Linked DNA regions of Homo sapiens: regions 2, 3 and 4 are each linked to region 1. The links are contacts of gene promoters, found by promoter capture Hi-C in blood cells and fetal thymus (Javierre and others, 2016). All regions are on one chromosome and are shown on one strand. The core of a region is centred on a gene start or on the middle of the fragment in contact, and the rest is flanking DNA. Distances in the headings are between cores, read along the strand shown.

Evidence for each region. The method cuts DNA at HindIII sites, captures the fragments that hold promoters and counts their contacts. A CHiCAGO score of 5 or more calls a contact.
Region 2: a fragment that was not itself captured here is called in contact with the fragment with the promoter of ZNF547 in region 1 in 1 of 17 cell types (fetal thymus); the score reaches 8.2 in fetal thymus.
Region 3: a fragment that was not itself captured here is called in contact with the fragment with the promoter of ZNF547 in region 1 in 5 of 17 cell types (total CD4 T cells, non-activated CD4 T cells, total CD8 T cells and 2 more); the score reaches 14.4 in total CD4 T cells.
Region 4: the fragment with the promoter of ZNF420 here is called in contact with the fragment with the promoter of ZNF547 in region 1 in 1 of 17 cell types (non-activated CD4 T cells); the score reaches 8.7 in non-activated CD4 T cells.

Annotation. Positions count from the first base shown.
Region 1 is chr19:57,362,109-57,364,860 of GRCh38, reverse strand. ZNF547 (zinc finger protein 547) reads right to left here and starts at 1,310. Exons shown (of 4, transcript NM_173631.4): 1 at 1,158-1,310. It overlaps TRAPPC2B (trafficking protein particle complex subunit 2B), which reads right to left and starts at 1,310. Exons shown (of 2, transcript NM_001355204.2): 1 at 1,158-1,310; 2 at 1-46. The coding sequence starts at 27. RefSeq lists enhancers at 1,258-1,637, 1,678-1,757. The HindIII fragment of the contact is 1,910 bases long and covers 19-1,928 here.
Region 2 is chr19:37,329,070-37,331,769 of GRCh38, reverse strand. It overlaps a transcript of ZNF875 not described here. Among named protein-coding and RNA genes, the nearest start is that of ZNF875, 4.2 kb to the left of the region's middle. The HindIII fragment of the contact is 7,336 bases long and covers 1-2,700 here.
Region 3 is chr19:37,211,883-37,214,604 of GRCh38, reverse strand. No RefSeq gene overlaps it. Among named protein-coding and RNA genes, the nearest start is that of ZNF585B, 2.7 kb to the right of the region's middle. The HindIII fragment of the contact is 8,273 bases long and covers 1-2,722 here.
Region 4 is chr19:37,076,953-37,079,743 of GRCh38, reverse strand. ZNF420 (zinc finger protein 420) reads right to left here and starts at 1,311. Exons shown (of 5, transcript NM_144689.5): 1 at 1,174-1,311. LOC105372390 (a long non-coding RNA gene) reads left to right here and starts at 1,547. Exons shown (of 2, transcript XR_001754095.2): 1 at 1,547-1,646. RefSeq lists an enhancer at 1,236-1,475 and a silencer at 1,566-1,855. The HindIII fragment of the contact is 14,557 bases long and covers 1-2,791 here.

The sequences.
Region 1 (2,752 bases), core at 61-2,560:
AATTACAAAGTAGAAGCTTCCAGACATGGTCTTCAATATATGGCTCCTGCAGCGGGAGGCCGACAACGGAAACGCAATGTCAGTTTCCGCGGAAGAGACCCGCGCTCCGCACCTTTTTTTGACACGGAATCTCGCTCTGTCGCCCAGGCTGGAGTGCAATGGCGCGATCTTGGCTCACTGCAATCTCCACCTCCTGGGTTCAGGCAATTCTCCTGCCTCAGCCTCCCGAATAGCTGGGATTACAGGCGCGCGTCACCACCCCCGGCTAATTTTTGTATTTTTACTAAAGACGGGGTTTCACCATGTTGGTCAGGCTGGTCTTGAACGCCTGACCTTGTGATCCGCTCGCCTTGGCCTCCCAAAGTGCTGGGATTACCGGCGTGAGCCACCACGCCCGGCCACCCTCTATTCTTTTGAAGAATCTACACCAGTTCTCCTCTGTAGACTCCACACCTTTCTGTCCCCCTACCCATGTGACATTTTCAACTTGAGACGCCTGAGAATCACACTGGCCAAACTCCAACCCATGATCTTCTCCATGAAACCTACTTCTCATGCTGCTGACTTCCCCAACTTCATTCTTTCAGATGTTCGGGCAAAAAAAAAAAAATGACCCTTCACTCCCTATTTTTGCTCACAGACATATCTGATACGGCAGGAAAACCTGTTGGCTCTATCTTCCAGGTCTATCCAGAATCCCATCACATTGTCCCTCTTATACCACGGCTCTGGTGCAGCCTCTGGGATCCACTGCAGTGGCCTCTTCTGGGTCTCTCTGTGTCAATTCCCCATCCTGCTCGTTCTAACTCTGGACCTGCCCCTCCCACTGGTCTTCCCTTGACAACCTTCCATGGTTATACCGGCTGCTCAGGCTGCCATTCCAAGAGAAAATTCACAAAACCCTCTCTTTCCCGCAGAAACAACCCACACTCCGGGCTCCCCGACGCGGCCCACTTGGCAGCACCTCCATGCTCTGAACCTGAGATCCCCGAAGGGAGCTCTGAGGCTGCATCAAACCAGCTGATACGGGGACCCCACACAGGAACGCCCCTCTCTTCGAGACAAGGGGCCTGACCTGCAGGGCCCCTTCTATGGGCTTCAGCACTGGAAGGAGGGGTCGGGCGGAGGTGGGGGGGGGCCTGGGACGGGGCACCCACCTCGGGTTCTTCGGCGGGGACTCCGCAAGTCCAGCCAGGGAAGAGAGGGGCGGGGGCGACAAAGGCAAGACAAGGACACCGCCGTCCCCAGTCCTTGTCAGCTGAGCTTCTGCCACTGTCAGTTGTGCCTGTGTCACTACCGCCTCTGCGTACAAGGAACCAAGCCGCTTCTCGCGCTTTTCCGCTCCGTCACTTCGGTGACGTCATAGAGCGCCAAAGGCCGGAACTAGTGAAAACACCAGAGAAAATCAAATCAACCACGGCAAGAGGACGCCGGAAGTCCCGCCCTCCTACGATGCGCGAGCACGAGGACGGACGCACGCACGCACGCACGCACGCAAAGGTTCCTTCCTGCACATTCATTGGGTCAGTCGCGCTGCCGAGAACCGCAGTGTCTTCTGGGTTATGAAGTTTCGACACCGCTTCTGGACTTGCCTTAGAGCGTTGGTCAGTCCTTATATGGCGGATAGAGGCTCAGTGGCACCGTCAGGGGAGCTGGTAAACAGAGTGCCGGACTCCACGGACAGGACGGGGCTTGGGTTGCTCTTAAAGGCGACATAACCAGATTTTCTTGAAGTAAGGTCTAGGATACTCACAGAAATGTGAGGGACCTATGATATCGGATTGTGAAGCACAGCAAGTTCTCAACGGCTACACCGCCAAAGGGACACACTATACCACAAAGGCACTCTGTCTCTACTCATGCCTCTCAGCCATATGTTGCTTTTCAAATACACATACAGTTAAACTTTGACTTCTATTTATTAAGCTTCAATATGGTTGGTCCAAGAGAACAAAGAAAGACTACATGGCTGGGAATTTGCACAAAAGAAGACAGGAGATACCGACGTAGATTGAAAGGGTGACGCTGTGCCTCTGGATCCAGAAGAAAACATCATTACTGTCTGTAGAGTCAGTGATTGTGTTCCTACCAAGAGTGCAATGCTTTTATTCTAATAATACTTATTACTTCATGTCTGAAATATTTTACATTTATTTTAAAAGTCTCAATCCTGTCTGAAAATGAGAGTGACTGATACATGCCATTTCCTGACAGGACATTTTGTGCCATTCCATAGTTGGAGTATATGTACACAGGGAACGTATTATCCCCAATAAAAACTGTGAACTTTCATGATCTTATCTCCTTCCTGAGAAGTGAGTTATCATTTTACAGGGAGTTGAAATTATCTGTGAAAATACTTGTGAAATGAAAATTACAGAAATCTATTAATAATAACTGTTAGGTTTTGAAGGGAAGGCGAGGGTTAAAGAAAGGCAGAGTTGGCAGCTCTACAGCAATGCAGGTTTTATGTCCAGCACGAGACCTGTGATGGGGAGAACTAGCTTAGTGCCAGAACCCCTCACTGCTTACAGGCTGGGGCAATTATAGGCCTGGATGAGAGGGGTCAGGGGTGGGGGGCAGGGGGCGCGGCGGGAGGGTATGACTTGCTGCCCAGGAGGATGGTGGGTTTTTTTTTGTTTTTGGAGGAGTCTCGCTCTTGTCGCCCAGCCTTGAGTGCAATGGCGTGATCTCGGCCCACTGCAACCTCCGCCTCCCGGAGTTCAAGCGATTCTTGAACTCCGCCTCCCGA
Region 2 (2,700 bases), core at 191-2,690, about 20 Mb after region 1:
CACGAGGCCATCTTTCAGACTATCACATGGGGAGAAACCTTGGACAATACCTGGCTTTCCTAGGCAGAGGTCCCTGCGGCCTTCTGCAGTTTTTGTGTCCCTGGGTACTTGAGATTAGGGAGTGGTGATGACTCTTAAGGAGCATGCTGCCTTCAAGCATCTGTTTAACAAAGCACATCTTGCACCGCCCTTAATCCATTTAACTCTGAGTTGACACAGCACATGTTTCAGAGAGCACGGGGTTGGGGGTAAGGTTATAGATTAACAGAATCTCAAGGCAGAAGAATTTTTCTTAGTACATAACAAAATGGAGTCTCCTATGTCTACTTCTTTCTACACAGACACAGTAACAATCTGATCTCTCTTGCTTTTCCCCACATGGGCGTGGTGGCCACTGCCTGTAATCCAGCTACTTGGGAGGGTGAGGCAGGAGAATCACTTGAACCCAGGAGGCAGAAGTTGCAGTGAGCCAAGATTGTGCCATTGCACTCCAGCCTTGGCAACAAGAGCGAGACTCTCAAAAAAAAAAAAAAAAAAAGCAAGGAGTTATTAGCTCTATACACTTTTTTTTTTTTTTTTTTTTGAGACAGAGTCTCACTCTGTCGCCCAGGCTGGAGTGCAGTGGTGCCATCTCGGCTCACTGCAAGCTCCGCCTCCCAGGTTCACGCCATTCTCCTGTCTCAGCCTCCCGAGTAGCTGGGACTACAGGCGCCTGCCACCTCGCCTGGCTAATTTTTTTGTATTTTTAGTAGAGATCGGGTTTCACCATGTTAGCCAGGATGGTCTCGATCTCCTGACCTCGTGATCCACCCGCCTCAGCCTCCCAAACGCTGGGATTACAGGCGTGAGCCACCACGCCCAGCCAAGCTCTATATACATTTATAGAAGAAACTTCTAATTTGAAAAACTCAAAGTTTTAAGTAACAATGATCACAAAAGGGGAAGAACAAACTTCCAGAATCTTGGGGACAGAGGGTGGTGTGGTGGGAAGAGAGGGAATTACTCTGTCACCAATGAGTCAAAAAAGTTATTAAAGATTAATTTTAAATGAATAAAACTAAAAACCAAGACTTACAGAATGAGACTAAAACCATGGCTGGAGGAAAACTTTTAGCCTGAAAGTAGCCTATGACTTAGAAATTAAGGCAGAAAACTAAGGAGTAAGCAGTTACCCTTCAGGTTAGAAAACCAACAGAATAACAGGAAATGAGAGAGGGAGGAAATAATCAGATGGGGCTGAGATGGGGGCTTATGGGGATGAAGGAGGCAGGAAGAGCACATTAAGTCTGTGCATAAAGTCACTCCCTAAGGACAGTCCCTGAGAGGAAAGTGGGTGCACAAGGATCAGGCTAGGTGTAAAAGGTGACAGGCAACCCTGGAGGGTACATTCAAGGGTTGACAGTGGCTAAGAAAACAGGAGGGAAAGTCAAGTGTTGAGCCTTTCCTGTCCCTAGCATGGAAGACATCAGGAGCTGATGAGTGAAAGTGATAAACACCATTCTCATCACCAAAAAAAGTCAAGTATTTGAGGTAATGGATAGGATAATTTGACTTAAACATTCCACACTGTATGGAAAAATCATAACATCATTTTGTACCCCATAAATATATACAATTTAAAAGATAGGTAAAAATCAGAAAAAAATTGAAAAAATATTCTTTATTTTTCAAACATATATAATTTATGGAGTACAATCTAATTCATCAATGTATATGATTTTTTTTAATGGTAAGTCAATAAACACAGCAAACAGTCCCTTGAGAGGCAGAGAAGGAAAATGGGCACAATCTGCCCTTAGAAAGACACAGCATTTAAATCCACGCATGTGAGAACTCCAGGATTCAAGACTAGGGGTCAAAACACAACCTGGTTTATCACCTATAGCCACAGGATGGCACCAACACCCACTGCTCCAGCCTGAGCTGGCCAGAGAGAGAGAGCATCCAGGAAAAGCTGGAACCTCCCAGAAGGCCTGAGACCTGCAGGTACCACACTGTAGTCCACTGAAGAGGAGGGCCCAATGTGAGGGGGAAAAAACCACTGAGGAAACATAATATTTGTGTATTTTTAATAAGATATTTAATACGTGTTCAGGTAGAAGTAGGTACAATGACAGAAAATAAGGTAGAGGAATGTGCTAGACACCACAGATACGTAATGATGGACAATAAATGACATGATGTGGAGAGTTCACCCACACATGCAGACTTCTTATGTTCACATAAACATTTATCTGCATGCATCACCCAGTAGAGACAAACTGCACTTACACTGTGAAGTCAACGAGGAGATAAAGTAAAAATCAAATACTTATGGAGAGAGTCAGTCTCTCCATTTAGTGGGAAACCCTTCAGAACACGCACACAGCATCTCCCCTCCCTTCTGAATACCATCCATAGCCTGCAGCAGTAGATGGCAAATCACAGCCTGGGCCACCCTTCCCAGAATGTCAAAAACATGGACATGCAGACCACAGAATTCACCAGATACCCAAGCTGGGTGGTGCGAGGCTCTGAAAGACATGCTTCAAATAAGAGGGACTAGAAAACTCCGCAAGGGAGCAACAGGGATCAGGGATTCCAGGAGGATCCAGGGGCCTGTGCGAAGAGCAAGCAGTGAGCAGATGTGTGTGTCAGTGATTCGGTGGCATGAACTCAACACCATCTAATACAGCAGCTCACGTTTCTTTGTGCATCAGA
Region 3 (2,722 bases), core at 158-2,657, about 20 Mb after region 1:
CCTCAAGTAATCCTCCCACCGAGGCCTCCCAAAGTGCTGGGATTACAGGCATGAGCCACCACAACAGCTGTGTCATCCCAACCCCTCTCTGGGCTTGATCACATAAAGAAGGCTTGCATTCCTCAGATAAAAGCCATTTATTTTCTTTTTCAACACTATGCGGAGTGAGATAAGCCAGACCAAAAGGACAAATATTGTATGAATCCACTTATATGAGGTGCCTAGAATAGGTGTATTCATAGAGACAGAAAGTAGAATTGAAGTTACATGAAGTTATATGAGGTACATGATAAAGCCTCTATACTTAAAACAGTGTGCTATTTGTGTGTGGTTAGAGAGACAGACAAAGGGAGGAGGATGGGAAATGGAGAAATAAACATCCATGGCCGGGCGCGGTGGCTCACGCCCAGCCCTTTGGGTGGCCGAGGTGGGTGGATCACCTGAGGTCAGGAGTTCGAGACCAGCCTGGCCAACATGATGAAACCCCATCTCTACTAAAAATACAAAAAATAAGCTGGGCATGGTGGCATGCGCCTGTCATCCCAGCTACTCAGGAGGCTGAGGCAGGAGAATTGCTTGAACCTGGGAGGCGGAGGTTGCAGTGAGCCGAGATTAAGCCACTGCACTCCAGCCTGGGCAACAGGAGCAAAACTCCGTCTCAAAAAAAGAAAGAAAGAAAGAAATTAACATCCCGGCCAGGCACGGTGGCTCACACCTGTAATCCCAGCACTTTGGGAGGCCAAGGCGGGTGAATCATGAGGTGAAGAGATCGAGACCATCCTGGCCAACATGATGAAACCCCGTCTCTACTAAAAATACAAAAATTAGCTGGGTGTGGTGGCACGCGCCTGTAGTCCCAGCTACTCGGGAGGCTGAGGCAGGAGAATCGCTTGAACCTGGGAGGCAGAGGTTGCAGTGAGCTGAGATTGTGCCACTGCGCTACAGCCTGGTGACAGAGTGAGACTTCATCTCAAAAAAAAAAGAAATTAACATCCACATAGATGCTTAGTATTTGATAAAGGTAGCAGCTCAAATCACCACAGTCACATCATAAAGTTTTATGCAGCCCATACACACACAGCAGAAAAAAAAAAAAACGAAGCTCTCTACGGAATGACATTAACTCTGGAATATATAAAAAATGGAAAGTATAGAACAGTGTAACATATAGTTCGTCTAAAAAAGAAAAGGAAATTAGATTAGATATAAGCATTTGTTTATATTCACTAAAAAAAGAAAAGATAGGAAAAAAGAAGTATTGGAAACGTGAACCAGAAACAATACCTATAGTGATAACCTATAGTGATTGGGGTGGTGGGGGGAGTGAGACTTGATATGTCTTTTTATACAGTTGCATAGGAAAAACAAACTGGTTTTAAAAATATATACTCTCACAACACTCAATACTTCCAGAATGTTTCGTTTTTAACACAAAATATGTGGAGTTTTTCTGACACCACTTCTCCAGCCCTCCCTACATGGGTGTCCTACAATTGAATTCAATTCTGACACTAACCTGAGTTAGCACAGACCTTACAGTTTAATTGCTCAGTCCCACAAGACTGCCCACCTCTTCAGATGCCAATGACAACTACTAGGTCACCTGATTACCAACAACTGCCCAGTTTGCCTGAAAATTAGAGGTTCTCATCATCCCCTTCTTGGATTTGATTCTACCAAACTTTTAAGGGAGAACAAATTCTAATATTTCTCAAACTAATCCAAAAAAATTGAAGGGGAAGGAATTTTTCCAAACTGATTCTGTGAGGCCAGCACCATCCTCATACTAAAACCAGGCAAAGACAGAAGAAAGAGAAAACTACAGGCCAAGATCCCTGATAAACGCAGATGCAAAAATCCTCAACAAAATACTAGCAAACCAAATCCAATAGCATGTCAAAAAGATACACAATGATCAAGTGGGACTTATCCCAGGGAAGCAAAGATGGTTTAACATATGCAGATTAGTATGTGCAATACATCACATTGACAGAATGAAGGACAAAAATCATATGGTCATCTCAATAGAAACAGAAAAAGCATTTGACAAAATTCAACATCTCTTTGCAATCAAAAAAAAAAAAAAACAAAACTCCCTGGCCGGGCTCGGAGGCTCACGCCTGTAATCCCAGTTCTTTGGAGTCTCACTCTGTCACCAGGCTGGAGTGCAGTGGCTCCATCTCAGCTCCCTGCAACCTCCACCTCCTGGGTTCAAGTGATTCTACTGCCTCAGCCTCCCAAGTAGCTGGTACTACAGGCGCACGCCACCACACCCAGCTAATTTTTGTATTTTTAGTAGAGGCAGGGTTTCACCATGTTGGCTAGGATGGTCTCGATCTCTTGACCTCATGATCCACCTGCCTCGGCCTCCCAATGCGTTGGGATTACAGGCATGAGCCACTGCGCCCAGCTGGGATTGCTTTTGAGCCTGGGCAGTCAAGGTTGCAGTGAGCCATGATTGTGCCATTACACTCCAGCCTGGGTGACAGAGTGAGACTCTGTCTCAAAAAAAAAAAAAAAAAAAAAGCAAGATTTTCTTCAGGTGTTTTTAGTCACACGTTGGCCATATTAAAGACTGTTATTATTATTATTGTGCTGTTGTTGTTGTTGTTGTTGTTTTGAGATGGAGTTTTGCTCTTGTTGCCCAGGCTAGAGTGCAATGGCATGATCTCGGCTCACTGCAACCTCCGCCTTCTGGGTTCAAGCGATTCTCCTGCCTCAG
Region 4 (2,791 bases), core at 62-2,561, about 20 Mb after region 1:
ACAGCATCCAGTGGCTGTCTTGAAGGTATTATCAGCCCTAAAATTCTCATCCTAAGACCAGGTCTGTAACTTGCAAATAACTCCTATTCATCACTCAGGTGTCCAAATGTCTGACTTCCTTACTTCTTGCCACTTCCCTGCACCCAATCCCCTTAAGGCTATAAGGCAAGAGGACGCAGGGAAGAAGTCGTGAACTCGTAAGTAACTACATTTCCCAAGGTGAACCGAGGATGGATACAGAAATGAAGCAATACAGGCCATGGATGAAAGGGCAGCCACTGTGGTCAAATCAAAAAGTCCTTAAGTCCTCAGAGCCACATGGGAGGAGCACAGAGCCACATGGGACTCACAATCCATAGGCAGACCTCAGCCCCAAATGAACCCCAGAAATACCAAAAAGAAATTTACTTCTGTACTGGACTAAACCCCCATAAGGTCACAGAATATACAAATGGCCACATAAAGTCACACATAATCACATTTCCACAGTTACACAGCTAGAGGCACAATCACCCAATTATGCTACATTGTTAGACCACCTTGTCTCAAACAAAATCCCATTAAGTACAAGGCATATAATTACATCCAAGCACCTTGTCAGAGACACATACCGCCAAAAACACCCTTTCAAAGCTGCAATTTTAGTCTCTTTACACAGTCATGAAAACAGCACACACAACCCCACAGTCACACACAATCAGACAGTCACCCAACCCAGTACGAAATCAGGGAAACACGCGGTAATAAACACCGTGTCACAGCAACACTGTCACACACCTTAAATTTACTGGCAAATCCATCCCACGATATCAGGTTTACACACAACCTCAAAGTGACACAAGAACATCCAAACACTCTTGTCACAACTGTCACACACTTCATAGTCACAGGCAAACCCCAATTATACACGCGGCACACATAAAATCACAGTCACATAAGTATATCCCAGCCAGGTAAGCAAACAGTCACAAACACCCTCAGAGTCACAACTCACACTCATACAAATGCTCATACACAAAACCACAGCCACACACGTCCAGTCGTGTATGCACAGGCAGTCGCCAATACCAGGCAGGCTGTAGCCTGCACACAAAACCGGAGACACGGCCACACGAGTAACCCCAGCGACGCTTTCTCCGCGCGTGTCCGCTCCGGCATCCCGGACACTCCTACCTTGACAGAGGTGCAGTTCAGGGTCCAAGATCTGGCTCCCGGGTTCCAAGCCCAATTTCGGGTTCGCCAGCCCAGCAGGTGCGGAGCCAAGCTCCTCCACAGACGCGGCCCTCTCCCCACGCGAGGCCTCCAAATCTCGCAAACTAACGGAAATGAAGCTACGCTCCGGGAGCGGTGCCTCTGGGAAATGTAGTCCAGCGCTCCGGACGCCGTGCCTCTGGGAAATGTAGTCCAGCGCTTGGCTAGCCGGCCAGAACGCCAGGAGGCCCGGGCCGCTCACCCCTCGAGGGGCTCGTGGGCTCGGCCTGTGGAACCTGCTTGTCCCGCCTGCAGCGCCCCGGAGGTTTCTGGGAGTGCCCGCCCGCCCGCGCTCAGTGCGCAGGCGTCAGACGCTCAGGGCCTGCGAGAGCGAGCTGAGTGGTCCCAGGGTCTACCCCTGGCAGGAGAGAGGGTGGGACCCGCCGGCCAGGCAGGTGCGGGGGAGGAGCTGGGGCCGGTGCGGGGACCCGCCGGAACCTCGGATTTGCAGAGGACCCTGTGTGTGCCCTCCCAGGCCCTTGGGGTGTGTGTGACAATGGGAGATGCCAGGTGGACTGAGAGTCTTTCCGTGGCCGGGTGTGTATGGTTGTGTTTCTGCCTGTGTGTGATTCTTCCTGCTGTGGGGTGTGAGGTGATTTGTACTTTAAGCTGCGTAGTAATGGGATTTTATAACTGTGTAGAATCGTCTAACAGAGTAAGACGATTTTACACAGATCTCTATTGTGGTTTGCTTATGAAGGGTATCTGTATGTATATCTGCTTTTTTGTGTGTGGCCGTAATTGAGTAACTGGTGATCTGTGTTATATAAACGTGCTTTCTTTGTGCTTGTATTTCAGTGTCTGTAAGGGTGCCAAGAGCAAATGAGCTGTGTGTGATCGTGTGTGACAGTGAAAATACTATGGCCAAGTTATTTCTTCCTTAAATAGTAATGTAATAATCTGGAAAAGATAATCAATTTATCTGACAAGTAATTTAGACATCATTTTTCTATTGGATCAAATATATGTGTTATCGGGAAGAATCCAAAATTAACGTAGTTTTTTCTTTGTTTTTAGAAAGATTATTTCAAAACCAGTCCTAGGGTAACTGCCTTTTCCTCTGCCACAGCAGGCCAAAAGTAGATATCCATTATTTTCTAATTAGAGGGTAAAGTTTCTCTTATTACTGGGTACGGTTGAGAGGCCATCAACTAATAAAATAATAAAACAACGTTATACATAAGAAGAGTGAATTTTAGCACAGTACAGCACTAGTCAGATTTCCCAAATTCTAGGTCAAACACTTGTCCTCATTTTCTGATGAGAAAACCTTGGCCGGCAGAAAGTAACTTAAGGCTGTAGAGTTTGTTGGTAAACCTGAACTTATTTTTACTTACTTCAAGACCTCTTGGCCTTTTATGATTTTTGAATAATCAAAAACTTGTGAACTTCCAGCACAGAGAAGATAGAGTATAATTTCACCACTCCTTCAGAGGGAAAAAAATTAATAAAACTTGGTCTTGCAAGACCATATATCAAATACATTGATCTCTTACCGGTAATGTGACTGGAATAGCAAATTTGGTGATCAGAATTCTTG